Regions from separate parts of the Homo sapiens genome. Here all the other regions are linked to region 2. Evidence: promoter capture Hi-C in 16 types of primary human blood cells and fetal thymus (Javierre and others, 2016). All regions are on one chromosome and are shown on one strand. The core of a region is centred on a gene start or on the middle of the fragment in contact, and the rest is flanking DNA. Distances in the headings are between cores, read along the strand shown. Region 1 overlaps CWC27 (CWC27 spliceosome associated cyclophilin). Region 2 holds the start of ADAMTS6 (ADAM metallopeptidase with thrombospondin type 1 motif 6). Region 3 overlaps CWC27 (CWC27 spliceosome associated cyclophilin). Region 4 overlaps CWC27 (CWC27 spliceosome associated cyclophilin). Region 5 overlaps CWC27 (CWC27 spliceosome associated cyclophilin). Region 6 overlaps CWC27 (CWC27 spliceosome associated cyclophilin).

What was found. The method cuts DNA at HindIII sites, captures the fragments that hold promoters and counts their contacts. A CHiCAGO score of 5 or more calls a contact.
Region 1: a fragment that was not itself captured here is called in contact with the fragment with the promoter of ADAMTS6 in region 2 in 2 of 17 cell types (M1 macrophages and M0 macrophages); the score reaches 8.4 in M1 macrophages.
Region 3: a contact is called between a fragment that was not itself captured here and the fragment with the promoter of ADAMTS6 in region 2, in 7 of 17 cell types (M0 macrophages, M1 macrophages, megakaryocytes and 4 more). The highest score is 12.3, in M0 macrophages.
Region 4: a contact is called between a fragment that was not itself captured here and the fragment with the promoter of ADAMTS6 in region 2, in 7 of 17 cell types (M1 macrophages, M0 macrophages, total B cells and 4 more). The highest score is 11.8, in M1 macrophages.
Region 5: a fragment that was not itself captured here is called in contact with the fragment with the promoter of ADAMTS6 in region 2 in 16 of 17 cell types (M0 macrophages, naive CD4 T cells, naive CD8 T cells and 13 more); the score reaches 35.0 in M0 macrophages.
Region 6: a fragment that was not itself captured here is called in contact with the fragment with the promoter of ADAMTS6 in region 2 in 6 of 17 cell types (M0 macrophages, M1 macrophages, erythroblasts and 3 more); the score reaches 7.1 in M0 macrophages.

Annotation. Positions count from the first base shown.
Region 1 is chr5:64,933,965-64,936,664 of GRCh38, forward strand. All of the region lies in intron 11 of CWC27 (CWC27 spliceosome associated cyclophilin), which reads left to right. Among named protein-coding and RNA genes, the nearest start is that of CWC27, 170 kb to the left of the region's middle. The HindIII fragment of the contact is 2,397 bases long and covers 109-2,505 here.
Region 2 is chr5:65,480,632-65,483,331 of GRCh38, forward strand. ADAMTS6 (ADAM metallopeptidase with thrombospondin type 1 motif 6) reads right to left here and starts at 1,289. Exons shown (of 25, transcript NM_197941.4): 1 at 712-1,289. RefSeq lists enhancers at 1,042-1,401, 1,169-1,668, 1,442-1,491. The HindIII fragment of the contact is 619 bases long and covers 1,098-1,716 here.
Region 3 is chr5:64,916,913-64,919,612 of GRCh38, forward strand. All of the region lies in intron 11 of CWC27 (CWC27 spliceosome associated cyclophilin), which reads left to right. Among named protein-coding and RNA genes, the nearest start is that of CWC27, 150 kb to the left of the region's middle. The HindIII fragment of the contact is 4,883 bases long and covers 1-2,700 here.
Region 4 is chr5:64,898,597-64,901,296 of GRCh38, forward strand. The region is part of intron 11 of CWC27 (CWC27 spliceosome associated cyclophilin); the gene reads left to right. Among named protein-coding and RNA genes, the nearest start is that of CWC27, 130 kb to the left of the region's middle. The HindIII fragment of the contact is 1,609 bases long and covers 625-2,233 here.
Region 5 is chr5:64,954,767-64,957,466 of GRCh38, forward strand. The region is part of intron 11 of CWC27 (CWC27 spliceosome associated cyclophilin); the gene reads left to right. Among named protein-coding and RNA genes, the nearest start is that of CWC27, 190 kb to the left of the region's middle. The HindIII fragment of the contact is 6,761 bases long and covers 1-2,700 here.
Region 6 is chr5:64,881,346-64,884,045 of GRCh38, forward strand. All of the region lies in intron 10 of CWC27 (CWC27 spliceosome associated cyclophilin), which reads left to right. Among named protein-coding and RNA genes, the nearest start is that of CWC27, 110 kb to the left of the region's middle. The HindIII fragment of the contact is 3,274 bases long and covers 1-2,700 here.

The sequences.
Region 1 (2,700 bases), core at 57-2,556, 550 kb before region 2:
CTTCATAGCTGTTATTTTTTCCCATTCCAGGATTCAATCCAAGATAATGCAGAAAGTATAGTTATAGAGAGATGTTTTGAGATTATGTAAATATATCATTCCTTATCAAGCTTTCACCCTTAGTTTTTTTGTTTTGTTTTGTTTTGTTTGTATTATACTTTAAGTTCTGGGATACATGTGCAGAACGTGCAGGTTTGTTACATAGGTATACATGTGCCACCATCGTTTGCTGCACCTATCAACCCATCGTCTACATTAGGCATTTCTCCTAATGCTATTTCTCCCCTAGAACCCCACTTCCCAACAGACCCTGGTGTGTGATGTTCCCTTCCCTGTGTCCATGTGTTCTCATTGTTCAACTCCCACTTATGAGTGAGAACATGTGGTGTTTGGTTTTCTGTTCCTGTGTTAGTTTGCTGAGAATTATGGTTTCCAGCTTCATCCATGTCCCTGCAAAGGACATGAGTTCATCCTTTTCTATGGCTGCATAGTATTCCATGGTGTATATGTGCCACATTTTCTTTATCCAGTCTATCATTGATGAGCGTTTGGGTTGGTTCCAAGTCTTTGCTATTGTGAATAGTGCTGCAGTAAACATAGGTGTGCATATGTCTTTATAGTAGAATGATTTATAATCTGTTGGGTATATACCCAGTAATGGGATTGCTGGGTCAAATGGTATTTCTGGTTCTAGATCCTTCAGGAATCACCACACTGTCTTCCACAATGGTTGAACTAATCTACACTCCCACCAACAGTGTAAAAGCATTCGTAATTCTCCACATCCTCTCCAGCATCTGTTGTTTCCTGACTTTTTAATCATCACCATTCTAACTGGCGTGAGATAGTGTCTCACTGTGGTTTTGATTTGCATTTCTCTAATGACCAGTGATGATGAGCTTTTTTTCATATGTTTGTTGTCTGCATAAATGTCTTCTTTTGAGAAGTATCTGTTCATATCCTTTTCCCACTTTTTGATGAGGTCATTTGGTTTTTTCTTGTAGATTTATTTAAGTTCCTTGTAGATTCTGGATATTAGCCCATTGTCAAATGGATAGATTGCAAAAATTCTCTCCCATTCTGTAGGTTGCCTGTTCACTCTGATGGTAGTTTCTTTTGCTGTGCAGAAGCTCTTTAGTTTAATTAGATCTGATTTGTCAATTTTGGCTTTCGTTGCCATTGCTTTTCATGTTTTAGTCATGAAGTCTTTGCCCATGCCTATGTCCTGAATGGTAATGCCTAGGTTTTCTTCTAGGGTTTTATGGTCCTAGGTTTTACGTTTAAGTCTTTAATCCATCTTGAGTTAATTCTTGTGTAAGATGTAAGGAAGGGGTCCAGTTTCAGTTTCCTGCTTATGGCTAGCCAGTTTTCCCAACACCATTTATTAAATAGGGAATCCTTTCCCCATTGCTTGTTTTCATCAGGTTTATCAAAAATCAGATGGTTGTAGATGTGTGACATTATTTCTGAGGCCTCTGTCCTATTCCATTGGTCTGTATGTCTGTTTTGGTACCAGTACCATGCTGTGTTGGTTACTGTAGCCTTGTAGTATAGTTTGAAGTCAGGTAGCATGATGGCTCCAGCTTTGTTCTTTTTGCTTAGGATTGTCTTGGCTATACAGCCTCTTCTTTGGTCCCATATGAAATTTAAGGTAGTTTTTTCTATTTCTGTGAAGCAAATCAATGGTAGCTTGATGGGGATAGCATTGAATCTATAAATTACTTTGGGCAGTATGGCCATTTTCATGATACTGATTCTTCCTATCCATGAGCATGGAATGTTTTTGCGTTTGTGTCCTCTCTTACTTCCTTGAGCAGTGGCTTATAGTCCTCCTTCAAGAGGTCCTTCACATCCCTTGTGAGTTGTATTCCTAGGTATTTTATTCTCTTTGTAGCAATTGTGAATGGGAGTTCACTCATGATTTGGCTCTCTGTTTGTCTATTATTGATGTATAGTAATACTTGTGATTTTTGCACATTTATTTTGTATCCTGAGACTTTCCTGAAGTTGCTTATCAGCTTAAGGAGATTTTGGGCTGAGATGATGTGGTTTTCTAAATATACAATCATGTCATCTACAAACAGGGACAATTTGACTTCCTCTCTTCCTATTTGAATACCCTTTATTTATTTCTCTTGCCTGATTGCCCTGGCCAGAACTTCCAATATTATGTTGAATAGGAATGATGAGAGAGGGCATCCTTGTCTTGTGCTGGTTTTCAAAGGGAATGCTTCCAGCTTTTGCCCAGTCAGTATGATATTAGCTGTGTGTTTGTTGTAAGTAGCTGTTATTATTTTGAGATACGTTCCATCAATACCTAGTCTACTGAGAGTTTTTAGCATGAAGGGCTATTGAATTTTATCGAAGGCCTTTTCTGCATCTATTGAGATAATCATGTGGTTTTTGTCATTGGTTCTGTTTATGTGATGGATTACGTTTATTGATTCGCCTATGTTGAACCAGCCATGCATCCCAGGGATTTAGCTGACTTGATCGTGGTGGATAAGCTTTTTGATGTGCTGCTGGATTTGGTTTGCCAGTATCTTATTGAGGATTTTCACATCAATGTTCATCAGGGATATTGGCCTGAAATTTTCTTTTTCTGTTGTGTCTCTGCAGGTTTTGGTATCAGGATGATGCTGGCCTGATAAAATGAGTTAGGGAGGAGTCCTTCTTTTTCTATTTTGTGGAATAGTTTCA
Region 2 (2,700 bases), core at 39-2,538:
GAGGCTTCCCAATACCCCATTCCTGCACTCTCACTCTCCCTCCTCAATCCCTGAACTTTGGTCCCATACACCATATATACAGACCTACCCCGATAAACAAGGCTCCGGAGGGTTATGAGTCTAGCACGTCCCAAGTGGCCAAAAGTAAATCAAAAACACACGTTTCCATCTCTTTGATTAGCCTATTAAGAGCTTAACATGTCCTAGAGCATCGGGGCTACAGCTAGCACATTAATGCTACCCTCTGAGCCCAGGCATAAAATATGCACTTGTCTGAAGACTTAACGACACTGACATGAAACTACAAAATGCATAAGACTTTTCTGTAAGAAAACTGGAAATCAATTTAAAACACACACATCATTATTACCTTCCGGATTACTATTTGGTGATCAGTTAAAAGATTACAATAATCATAATCAAGTCCACTTCACAAAACATGTATTGTATATTCATAAAATAAACGTATTTTTTTTGCATCATAAAATAACTGCAAGTCCCAGAATTCTACAACCCCCGACAAGTCTGGAGTTAAAAAGATATCTATTTGTAAAATGAGTTCAGTCAAGCTCACTCATTGCCATTAAAAAAAAAAAAAAAAACACACACACAGAAAAAAAGTTTTCTAAGCGTTATTCGGAAGACAAGCAAAGCACAAGTTGTTGGTTTAAAAAAAAAAAGCTCCATTGAATATTGTTAAGTCTTCCTTACCGTTTTCATCTTCAAATTCTGATAAAAAGTAAGTTTCAGACAATAGAGATTGCACTGGACGACTCACGTACTCCCTCTCCTCTCTAACTTTTTTTAATTTTTTTTATTTTTTTATTTTTTGCCCCCCTTTGCAAAGCCACACCAGCCAGTTATTCTGCAGCCAGAATAAAACCCTATGGTCTGGCTAACCCGGGCTTTAGAGAACTGACTTTCCGATTTGGCAGAATAAGAGATGCCTTCAATACATCTAGGCTATCACTCTGAGATGCTGCCTTTGCAAACCCCCTTTCTCTCCCTCCCCACCCCCCAAAAAAGGAAAGGAAAAGAAAGAAAAGACGGGAAAAAAGACTTATTGGGGGTGGAAGTGGTGCCCTCTCTTCCTGGAAAGCTTAGTGCCTTTGCTATGCAAATAACATGTGCAGAGCATCAAAAGGTATCAGGAGAAAAGAAGACAAGAGGAGCAGGAAGGGCAGCAAAGTTTTGTTGAAGTAGCCCTAGATCTCACTACCGGCCCCCAGCCAACTTGAATTGCAGCAGGAGAAAATTTTGGCAGCTTTTCCTCGGAGGCAGAGCACACTGACGTCAGTCTGCAGATGTGCCTGGGCTGCGTCGGGTGCGCATGTGTCCTGGGTCGTCACGTGGAGGGGGAGGGGAGGTAGAGGTACAATCGGGGTAACCAACTACCAGCCATTCAGAAGGGCTTAGACAATGTCAACTTTTCCACACTGTGAATGAGAGAAATTCTGGCCTCTCTAACCTCTCTGTCCTATCTCATTCCGCCTCTTTTCCTCCTCCTCCTCTAAACTCTCTTAGAAATTCTAGCCTGGTTTGCTATTAGTTGTTTCTTGGAAAAATGAAGGGGGAGGGAGAAGGATGAATGACTTTAGATGGACTAATGTCACTGTTAAGATCTCTGGTGTCATTCTCCGTGTAATTTTATTTTTAAAATCCACACAATCAAAATGTTAAAACTTGCACGCAAACAGTGCCTCTGAGGAAACTTAAAGCTTAGATTCGTGCAGCAGGCACAAGACTCAGTAGCTACAAGTGTACAAAATGCCTGTGTTTTATACATACTTCAGCAAGTAAGGTTAGCACCAAAAGGGAAAGTAAACTAAAGTAAACTAATACCAGCACATTTTCCATTTGATTATCGACTTCAGGTTATGTGGAGCTTTAAAAGAAGAAGAAGAAGAAAAAAAAAAAGTAGGGGAGGAGGGAGCGGGGGAAGGAAGAGAGAAGCTTGCATTATTTCCAGATGAGGGTGAGACTGGATGGTGTTTTAAAGTGCAACCGGGAAAAGCCACAAGTGGAGTGTATTTTTTTAAGTCAGTCCATTGAATGAAACTTCAATGACTGCCCAAATGAAAATAAATCCGAAGTAGGACCCCACCACCAAAAAAAAAAAGGAAGGGAAAAAAACAGGAACCCTGCTGCGATCTCAAGATAAACAAACAAAACCTCAAAACTGGTTCTTCAACCTTCCCAATCCCACCCTCCCTCCCCCCTACACACAAGCTGCCAGTCCAGACTTTAAGGATAAAATACCGCTACAATGTAGCACTTTCACTTTCATTTGCTGAGAATGAAAGCCGCTGGGGAGAAAATGCCCAGTGTTTTCCATGTCCTAAGCAAGCAAACAAAGTCTGGCACATACATCGGAAACAGGAAAAAATGTGAAAATAGCTCAGGACAAATGTTGCCTTTCAACGGTGTAATCTGCTGCATCATTTATCTGTCTCTACCATTGAGTGTAGAATAGGGAGCTGTTTAAGAGTTTCCGAGGTTGGGGGCAGGGGAAAATTGACGCCTTGAAATTCCAGCCCTTAGTTAATGCCAAGTCAATTTCCGATGGTGAGAACCAGAAAGGAGAACTGGACCGGAGGGAAGGGGGTAGGAAGGATGATCTTTCTGAATACCAGCTCTTAAATATCAAGCTTCTGCTAACATTATTGCCCATTTGATTTTTTTTTTTCTTCCTACGCCGGA
Region 3 (2,700 bases), core at 48-2,547, 560 kb before region 2:
TAGTAGTAGTAGTAGTAGCAGTGGTAGTAGACGACTTGTACTGACTAGTAGCTCTTTGTTGCAAGGTGATCTTTGGGTTCAGGACCTCAGGTGGTATTTTTGAAGGATTAATAGGGATGTTGTCACCCTTTTTACCCTGAGCTGGCTAAAGAGATAGTCAAAGTCCCCATGTACCTATAAGGCTTGTGTTCTCATTCCTCTACAAAACTGACTGTGTTCTCTAATAACTATATGATGGGCTGGGAGATTAATTTTGCAGTATTTTGTGATGTCCAGCTCTTCCCCTGCATTTTCACTACTTCTACACGTGTTCTTATCCAAGGTGCCATCCATCTTCGGTAGGCCTCTGCATACATATTGTGACTAGTGGAGACAAAGTGAGGCACTAGAGCCTCTGGCATTAGTTGGCATATTTCCTTGTCCAAGTAGGGAATCTGGCAGTATCTTCTTTTTATATATTATTCCATTGCTCTCAACTGCTTCAGGAAAATTGAATTATGTTAGTTTTTCCAAGGAAGGAACAGAGGCCCTTTTGTCTGATGTGTTGGTTAATTCTATATGTCAGCTTCACTGGGCGATGGGGTGCCCAGGTATTTGGTAAGACATTATTCTCTGTGTGTCTGTGAAGGTGTTTGGTGATAAAATTGGCATTTGAATTGGTAGACTGAGTAGAGCAGATTACCCTTCCTAATGTGGGTGGCCCTCATCCAATCAATTGAGGGCCTGAATAGAACAAAAAGGCTGATCCTCCTGCAAATAAGGAGGAACTCCATCTGCCTATCTTCTTTGAACTGGGACATTTGTTTCTTCCTTCTCAGACTCAACCAAAATATTGACTCTTGTTGGGTCTGAAGCCTGCTGGCTTTCAGACTGGAACTTACACTATCAGCTCTCCTGGGTCTCAGGCCTTTGAACTCAAACTGGAACTACATCACTGGCGCTCCTGGTCTCCAGCTTGCTGACTGCAGACCTTGAAACTTCTCGGGCTCCATTAACCTCTTTTATATATAGAGAGAGATACATACACACACACACACAAACATACACACACACACACATTGGTTGTATATCTGGAGAATCCTGATTAATATACCCGATAAATTCAAAACAAAACAAAACTTGAAAAAAAAATTTTTCAGGTGAATATTTGTTTTTTAGCATCTGAGTTTCAGTCCAAACAGGGAAGGAAAGAGAGGAAGTGTCTTCAAAAAATATAGACACCCCCCAAAAATATATTAAATCAATAATAATTTAGATCCAAGATGTTATTGATGGTTGGAGTATAGACCACTACCCATACAAAAAGCACTGTAGGAAATGGAGTTCTTCAGAGAGTAGAATTGTGGTTACCAAGGGCTAGGCAGGAAGGCAGATTGGGAAGATGTGGTCAAAGGATTCAAAATTTCAGTTAGAGAGGAGTAAGTTGAAGAGCTCTATTATACAAAATGGTGACTATGGTTAATAACAATGTATTATATCCTCGAATATTGCTGAGAGTAGGTTTTAAGTATTCTTGCCACAAATAAAAAAAAACTGTGTCAGGTATGTGAGGTAATGTATGTGTTAATTAGCTTGATTCAGCCATCCAATATATATTTCAAAACATGATGTTGTACACCAAAATATATACAACTGTTGTATATATATTCAAAAAGGGAAAAAAAGAAAATGGAGTTCTTAATTTAGCAGATGATGCTTAAATTCTTTTTAATCTAGAAAGTATCTATATTATTCTAAGATACAAAAATTAAAATAAGACCAGTTGGTCTTTACTGTTTTTCTCAGTTTTAACAAATGTAATGCAATCTTAGCTTGGATCTTCTCTGCTCTTTTTTCTTCATTTTTTCTGTTTAATATAATAGTATCTCTCACTTTCTTAAATGGTTGTATGTTACTGCTATGTTCTATGGAACATCTACCAGAGTCCTGTCCAATTCTCTACCCACCCACCTCCACGTCCATCCCTCAGTGATTCCACATTGAACATGAGCAAAGCCATTCTTCCGGAGTTTATAAAACCCTTCAAGATTATTGAAAATGAATGGTGTTATATAAATGTCATGTTGTTTCATAGCAGTTCTTAAAACAATGAGATAATGTCTGTTAAATAATTTTAAGTTCCATGGAGAAATGCAGGGCATAAATACAAGTCATTTTTTATTATGTGATTTCCATATATTTTTGCTGTACAATTTAAAACATTATAATCTCTAAAGATATAAATGCTTTCTTTGTGTTTCTATATGTATGTGTACACACGTATATGCTGCCTATATAAAATTAATAAATAATTTTGTTGCTTCGTTTTGTCATTTGGGCCCAGTAAATTTGTCACCATAAATACTGGCCAGAGAAAAATTAGAAATCTAAAGCAGTTTCTTTTAGTATTAGACATAGTGTTTACTTCTTAACTTTGTACTTGTGTATTACTGAAATTTTTTTCTTTTCTACTTTTATTTTAGGTTCAGAGGGTGCAAGTGCAGGTTTGTTACATGGGTAAATTGGGTGTCATTGAGGCTTGGTGTACACATGATCCCATCCCAAGGTAGTGAGCATAGTACCCTATAGGTAGCCTTCCAACCTACACCCTCATCCTACTCCCCACCTCCAGCAGTCTCCAGTATCTATTGTTCTCGTCTTTGTGGCCATGTGTATTCAGTGTCTATCTTCCACTTATAAGTGGGAACATGCAGTATATGG
Region 4 (2,700 bases), core at 179-2,678, 580 kb before region 2:
GTGAAATTTCTATTGATAGTGCTAGTTTTATTAGCTACAAAAGAAGTTGCTGTTAAAAAAGAAAGAGGGAGAGAGAGGCAAGCAGATGGATAAAGACTCAAAAAATGCCATGTTTAAATAAGATTGAGGATTATTTCTCTCATGCAGAACAATTCAGGGTGAGCACTTCAGGACCAGCAGGTATTTAAGGACCCAAGTTTTTTTCATTTTTGTCTTTTTGGCATCTTCTGAGGTGTTATCATTGTCTGCATGATTCAACCCGACCCACCTCCATGCCTATATTCCAGCAACGGGGAAGAGGAAAGAGCAAGTACCAGACTGGTGACTTCATCTTTGAGGAGATGACCCAAAAGTTGCACAAAAGCACTTTCACTCTTATCATATTATACTGAAATCACATGGCCATACCTAGCTGTAAAAAAGGCTGAGAAATAAAGTCTCCAGTTGAGTGTCCAAGTGGCTGGCTAACTAAATATCAAGGATGGGAGATATATGGGGTTGATTCCTTTACTAAAAGGTAAAAGGGATGACTGAATTCAGGGAGAAAATTACTAGATTCTGTTATATAATATGAACAAAATCCTAGGAAGAACCAAATAGGCGGTAGTCCATTGGGTCAGGAAAAGCTTGACCAAGTATCTGAGCTATGTTTTGAGAGATGAATAAAATTCCACTGCAAAATGAAGGGCAATAAGTATAACAGTAGTTGGAAAGGTGCCTGGCAGAGCAGGAGCCATAGATTCATCTCTATATGCCTAATACTTTGCATAGTAATGGGCAAAATAATAAGCATTCAACAAACATTTGCTGAAGTAATGAATGAAACTGGCTTTTGCTTAAGTGAATAATCACATTATTTGTAAACTAAGGAAAAAAAGAATAACAATGAAAAAGACAATTTTTTGAGTATGAATCTATGACAACACGAAGAGCACAGATGCACATTTAAATAATGGGCAAAGTTTCAGATAAGAGCTATGAACATATTATGAAACAGGACAATGTAATTTGGTGGTATGTACCAGAAAGGGCCCAGTCAAAAGACAGAATCCACAAACAAAACTTTTGAACAGAAACGAAAACATTTGTAATAGCTTTATTGAAGAATAATTTAAAGTGAACTGTTTGACATGTTTTGACGTATGTCTATACCTGTGAAAACATCACCACAATCTAGATAATGAACATGTCCTTCAAGGCCCAACATGTTCTCATGCCCCTTGTTAACCCCCTCTCTGATCCCCTGGCAACCACTAAAGTCTTCTATCACTATAAAATAGTTGTATTTTCTAAATCTTATTTAAATGAAATCATATTCTCTATGTACTTTTTTGTCTGACTTCTTTCAATCAACATATGCATTTTCAGATTTATCCATGTTGTATATATCAGTAGTTTGTTCCTTTTATTGCTAAGTAGTATTCCATTATATAGATATACCACAAGTATTTTATAACCATATGCTATTATTTTGCTTGAGCAAATGTCTGGAAGTGGAATGGCTAAGTCATGTGATAGGTGTATGTTCAACTTTTTGAAAACTGCCAAACTGTTTTCCAAACTGGTTGTGCCATTGTACATCCTACAAGTAGTGCATAAACTATCCTGTTAACTCCATATCCTTGTTAACACTTCGTGTGGTCACTTTCTAATTTTAGCCATTCTAATAGTTTGCAGTGTTACTTTGTGGTTTTGATTTACATTTAATTAATAATGATGTTGAGCATTGTTTCATGTGCTTATTTGTCATCCGTATATATTCTTTGGTGCAGTATATATTCAACTCTTTTTATCCATTTTTTATTGTGTTGTTTGTTATTTACTATTGAATTTTTAGACTTCTTTATATTCTTTGGATACAAATCCTTTATCAGATATATGATTTGTAAATATTTCTCTCAAACGGTGGCTTATATTTTTTGTCCTCTTAATGGTGTCTTTCAAAAAACAAAACTTAAATTTTGGGAAAGTCTAACTTATTAACTTTGTTCATTTTTGAATCTAGTTATTGGTTCTAAGAAATCTTTGCCTGACTCAAACTCAAAAAGATCTTCTATGTGTTTTTTTTTTAGAAATTTTGTAGTTTTAAGATTTTACATTAAGATTTGATTCACTTTGACTTAATGTTTATATATACAGTCACATATCCCTTAACAATGGGGATACAGTCTGCGAAATGTGTTGCTAGGTGATTTTATCGTTGTGTAAACACCATGTGAGTGTTCTTACACAAAGCTTACTCAAAACTAGATAGTATAGTTTACTATACACCTAGGCTATATGGTGTGGCCCAAGCTTGTCCAATCTGTGGCCAGTGGGCCACATGTGGCCCAGGACAGCTCTGAATGTGCCCCAACACAAATTCATAAACCTTCTTAAAACATTATGAGACTTTTTTGTGATTTTTTTTTTTTAGCTCATCAGCTATCATTAGTGTTAGCATATTTTATGTATGGCCCAAGACAATTCTTCCAGCGTGACCCAGGGAAGCCAAAAGATTGGATACCCCTGGTATAGGCTATTGTTCCTAGGCTATAATCCTGTATAGCATATTACTGTACTGAACATTGCAGGCGATTGTAATACACAGGTAAGTATTTGTGTATTTAAACATATCTAAACATAGAAAAGGTACAGTAAAAATACGGTATAAAAGAGATGGAGACCATCCTGGCTAACACAGTGAAACCCCGTCTCTAC
Region 5 (2,700 bases), core at 145-2,644, 530 kb before region 2:
TTTCTATATGCATATATATATATATATGTATGTATGTTAGTTATAGGTAGAAGATAGGAGTAGCAAAGCATTTTCCATCATTAGGCCAACAAATACTGTTTATTCTTTAATCAAATTCAGAATTATAGGTAAGCCCCATGATAAGCAGTGCTACATTTGAACATCCAAATTTATAGAAAATATAAACTAAGTTTTGATAATTCACAAAATAATTTTCTATGTTTCTCTCAATTATGAGTTTTATTGGTACTTTGGAAATAGGATTTAATATAGAGAAATATTTCTTATTCAAACAATCTATGTTAATAAAATGAAAAATATGATATCTACTCCCTGCTTCTTCAAATGATACTTAATCAGCTGAAGGCAGTCATAACTATAAAGTACCTTACAGACATAAAATATAGTGCCTTGTATTCACTGCCAAATAATAATAATACCTCATTTATATAACATCAACACTTTACAAAGTCATGTCACATGCTTCATTACATTTAGTTCTGTAACAGTCCTGAGAAGTAGATTAAACAAATATTATAGTTTCTACTTTGCAAATGAAGAAACCAAAGTATTAAAGATATTTAGTACTCACCCTAACTTAAATGGTAGATTTGAGATTTTATCCAATATTTTTTCCACTGTAAAACTGCAAAGTGCTGTTTCCTCAAAAAATAAAACAAGCCACAAGCAATATGACCTGTTAGCTGTATGCCAGAATCAGCAGTCTGATTGCTAGCCTACAATTCACAGCATTACCACTAAAATTGAGCAGGGCGACCCCCATTCAACTCACCATCCGACCTCAGGTTCCAGAAAGCCCATTTGGACACAAGTAGACTTCAAATGGAGCATAGTTGGATGAGCTTTTCCCCTACCTTCACTCCATCTCAAAACTTAATTTGTCAGAGATGTCATTAATCTGACATTAATCTGGTCTGGTTGGTCTAGGCAGGTAAAAAATAAAAATGAAAAAAAAAGTCAAGAGTGAAACACAGTCAGAAACAACTGGATATGGTGCTTTCAAATAGTTGTACATATTTTCATATTTCAATTAAAATATTCTCATAGATACAGAAAAATAATTTTACCAGGATATTTTCCAAAGTTCCTTATTAAAATTATTAGGAAAAAAAATCCCAAGATCTTGGGGAGTCAGTCCCTCTCTCTCCCTGTCTCACCTTTGCACTTGCAGTCACTAAACTACTAAGGAATGCTTTGTTCACTGATAAGAGGTGTGTGGGCATCAGGAAACTTGAAATTTTACTGCCATTTTATCAACTAACTAAAGCTAGTACTATGATAGAAAATAACCCTTAAAAAATTCTTAGACACGAGTCCAAACAACATAACAATCTAGAATGGTTCAACACATTTAACTTTATAAAAGGCTCACAAATAATCAATAATTAGGTATAGGAATATTAGAAATAAAAATTTTTATAAGAGGCTCACAAACACCTATGAATTATTTTTGGCAGTATAGGACCAACAAGATATAAAATGTGGCTGCTCATTGCTTACCAAAATAAAGTTCAAATTTCTTTATTTGGCATTCAGAGACTTTCATGATCAGAGTTTTGTCTTATTTTCTTTATTCCCCATCTTATTTATACATTCTTCATTTTCAAAGAATAATTTTTCTCTGCCTCCTGTGCATCCTGCCCTGTATTTCCTTTGGTTGTTATGTCTTGGTTATTATTTCTCGTTTACCTGCTATTGCCAAATCTTATTTCTCCTTTAATGCCCACTTATGCTGCCACTTCCTCTACCCAGCTTTCCCTCTCCCTTCTCTGCATGAATTTCCTAAATATCAGAACCTCTCATGTTATTTGTACCACTACACAGTAATAGTGTATGTCTTACCCTTTGTCCAGTATATAAGCTCCTAACCTGGAAAACTGTCATTGGTTTCCCTCACTCCTACGCATAATAGTACCACCTACCACCATAACTGTTTGCACTAAATAGAGTAGAAAAAGGATGAGCTTTGAAGTCTGACAGCCTTGGATTCAAATCCTTGCTTCATCATTTATTAGCCATATAAACTGGGGTAAGAGATAACCTATCTAAACCTCTGTTTCCTCATGCATGAAATAGGGATAATAATACCCCTTCTGTTGTTACAGAATTAAGTAATAAAGCATGCACAGTATCTTAACATTGTGTCTTAGACATGCTAGATCCTAAAAAAATGGTGATGGTGCTGGCAGAAGTGGTCATACTTATATTTTAGAAGCTACTTTATTGCTTCAGTTTCCTCAATCACATAGGAAATCTAAAGAATACTCTGCAATACCACACATGCAAGTATTTTAAGGACTGTTTTGAACAGATTTGTAAATTCTTATAACTACTTGGAGAAAATTACCTTATGTTACAAAACAATAGAACCCTCCTTTAAGTACTGTTAGAAACACAGATATTCTGCAATGCTTAATTCGCCTTGGGCAATTTTAGGTAGTACTTCTTGAGTCTCCTTTCTCATTGGCTTCATAAATTCTTTTTATCTTGAAGAATTTTTTTTTTCTTACTGCTACAACACGGGGTACATAATTTGTAGTTTCCACATCCAGAATGGCAGGGCAACATGGAAATGTTTTCAAAATGGCCATCGAGCTACAAGAATTGCGGATCACACCATCTGCAGAAGCACAAAGTGTGCTCTCTTGAGGTACCTGGGGGGCAACATCAATCAACCTG
Region 6 (2,700 bases), core at 17-2,516, 600 kb before region 2:
ATCTTTGACTATTTAAGGATAGATTTTTAGAAGCAAGCATTGTGCATTCATTGCCCTCTTAAAATGATGAACAGAGTTGTTTGCTGTATATAGTAGAAATAACATTCATTTATAATAAATAATAAAGAACTATGCCCATATGACAGACAGCTCTTAACAGTGGTGCTATTTTAAATAGAGGACCTAAATCATAATAGCTACTGTTTGTTGAACATGTCTTGTGTGCTCAATATTTTACATAACTTACCCCTAATTTATAGTTGAATAAACTGAGTCTCAGAGAAGTTAAGTAACTATTCTCAGGTCACCTGGCTAATAAGTGATAGAGTTGGCTTTTAAATCAATACTTTCTGAATCCAAAGTTAAGTCTTATAATAGCTATGTTCTACTCCCTCTACAATAGTATCGTAAACAGTCTATACTTTCTTTGCCTCATTCTTTGTGTACTTCAAATTATTCTCATAACTAGTTTGTCTACCCTAGAAATGCACCATTTCCTCTTCAACTCTCAAAATAATCTCTACCTCAAAGACCTTAGTGTTCGGAAAACATCATCTAAATGACTGAATTACTTACCAAATTGAAAGCTATACAAAGTAGCATAATAAAAAGATAGGAATGTTTGATGGAGTAAATGGAAGATGTGTTTGCTGTTCCCTGTGCAGCGGCTACCCAGTTCCATTTTTATGTCATGCCAAGTAAATATGGGATATCTACAGTTGTGTTCATATAGCTTTAAGAAATAGGAAATAATTGTACTTACCTGAGAACACATAATGACAGCCTAAACTAGGCATTGATGGTTAAAGTCAAGAGGAGCTGTTATATGTGAGAGAGATTAGAAAATGATGTACTTCAACACTGATTCAATGAAAGGAAAGGGAGAAGAGTCCAAGGGAAATTTAAAGTCTGGTCATTCAAAAGATTATGGTTCCATGATCAAATAGAGACTTCAGGAGAAGGAACAAATTTGGGCAAGAAGGAGACGATTTCAGGTTTGGACATAAAGAATTTGTAATTATGTTGAGATGTCCAGCCTGCTGTTTCTCTAGAGTTGAGTCCTTGAAATGAGGCTAGTCTCAATTGAGATTTGCTATAAGTGTAAAATGCACACTGTATTTTGAAGACTTAGTACAAAAGAGAGTGTTGAATATCACATTAATATTCTCTATATTGGTTTTATGTTAAATTGGTAATATTTTGGATATATTAAGTATGTAAAAATTAATGTTTCCTTTTAGTTGTTGTTGTTGTTGTTGTTGTTTTGAGACGGAGTCTCGCTCTGTCGCCCAGGCTGGAGTGCAGTGGTGCGATCTTGGCTCACTGCAGGCTCCGCCTCTCGGGTTTGCACCATTTTCCTGCCTCAGCCTCCCGAATAGCTGGGAGTACAGGTGCCCGCCACCCCGCCTGGCCAATGTTTTGTATTTTTTTTAGTAGAGACGGAGTTTCACCATGTTAGCCAGGATGGTCTCGATCTCCTGACCTCGTGATCCACCTGCCTTGGCCTCCCAAAGTGCTGGGATTACAGGCGTGAGCCACCACACCCGGCTCCTTTTAGTTTTTAAATCTGTCTACTAGGAAACTTAAAATTGTATGTGTATTAGTCTGTTCTCATGCTGCTAATAAAGACATACCCAAGACTGGGGTAATTTATAAAGAAAAGAGGTTTAATTGACTCACAGTTCTGCATGACTGGGGAGGCCTCAGGAAACTTACAATCATGGTGGAAGACATCTCTTCACAGGGTGACAGGAGAGAGAATGAGTGCCAGCAGTGGAAATACCAAATGCTTATAAAACCATCAGATCTCATGAGAACTCACTCACTATCATGAGAATAGCATGGGAGAAACTGCCACCATGATCCAATCACTTTCCATGAGGTCCCTCCCACAACACATGGGGATTATGGGAACTACAATTCAAAATGAGATTTGGGTGGGGATACAGCCATACCATATCAGTATTAAATTTCTGAGTTAATCTACGCAGAAATTTGTAGAAGATAGGTACAAATGCAGGACCATTAAGGCAAAACATCTACATTTGGAAATAACCTATATAGGAGTGATAGTTGATGTTATGAGATTAGATTAAAATGCCAGTGTACAAAGTATAGAGATGAGAAAAATGTCAACAATTATAATATGGGAAGAAAAAGAGTAACCAGGAGAAGAATTGGAGATTCAAAATGCTAAAATGGTATATAAGCCTGACTGGGATAGAATTCTAAGAAGAAAGGAGAAGGAAGGAATAATTAACATCATTGAATGATAGAGGCCAAAAAGGAAGAGGAGAAATGAGAAAAGGCCATTGAATTTGGTTGATATAGAAGCAGTTTCAGTAGACTGTAAGAGGGATAGATTGCAAGAGATTAAGAAGTTAGAGGTTAATAAAGCAGACTGTATAGGTAAACTATTCTTTCAAGAATGGAGTCCATTTGTGAAGATAATAATCACTTGATTTGAGCCAAGTCCAGAGAAATTTGAGCATTTTTGTTTGCTGAATAAAAGGATCAGTGAGGTGGGAGTGTTTGAAATTGTAAAAGAGAGAAGATAATTTCTATAATAAGATCCTAGAGCATTGTATCCCAAACCTGAGTACATACTGGAATCATCTGGGGATCTCGTTACAAGGGCAAATTTCCAGGCAACATTCCACATCTAAAGTTATTATATTCCCTGGAGGTTTGTCTCCCCCA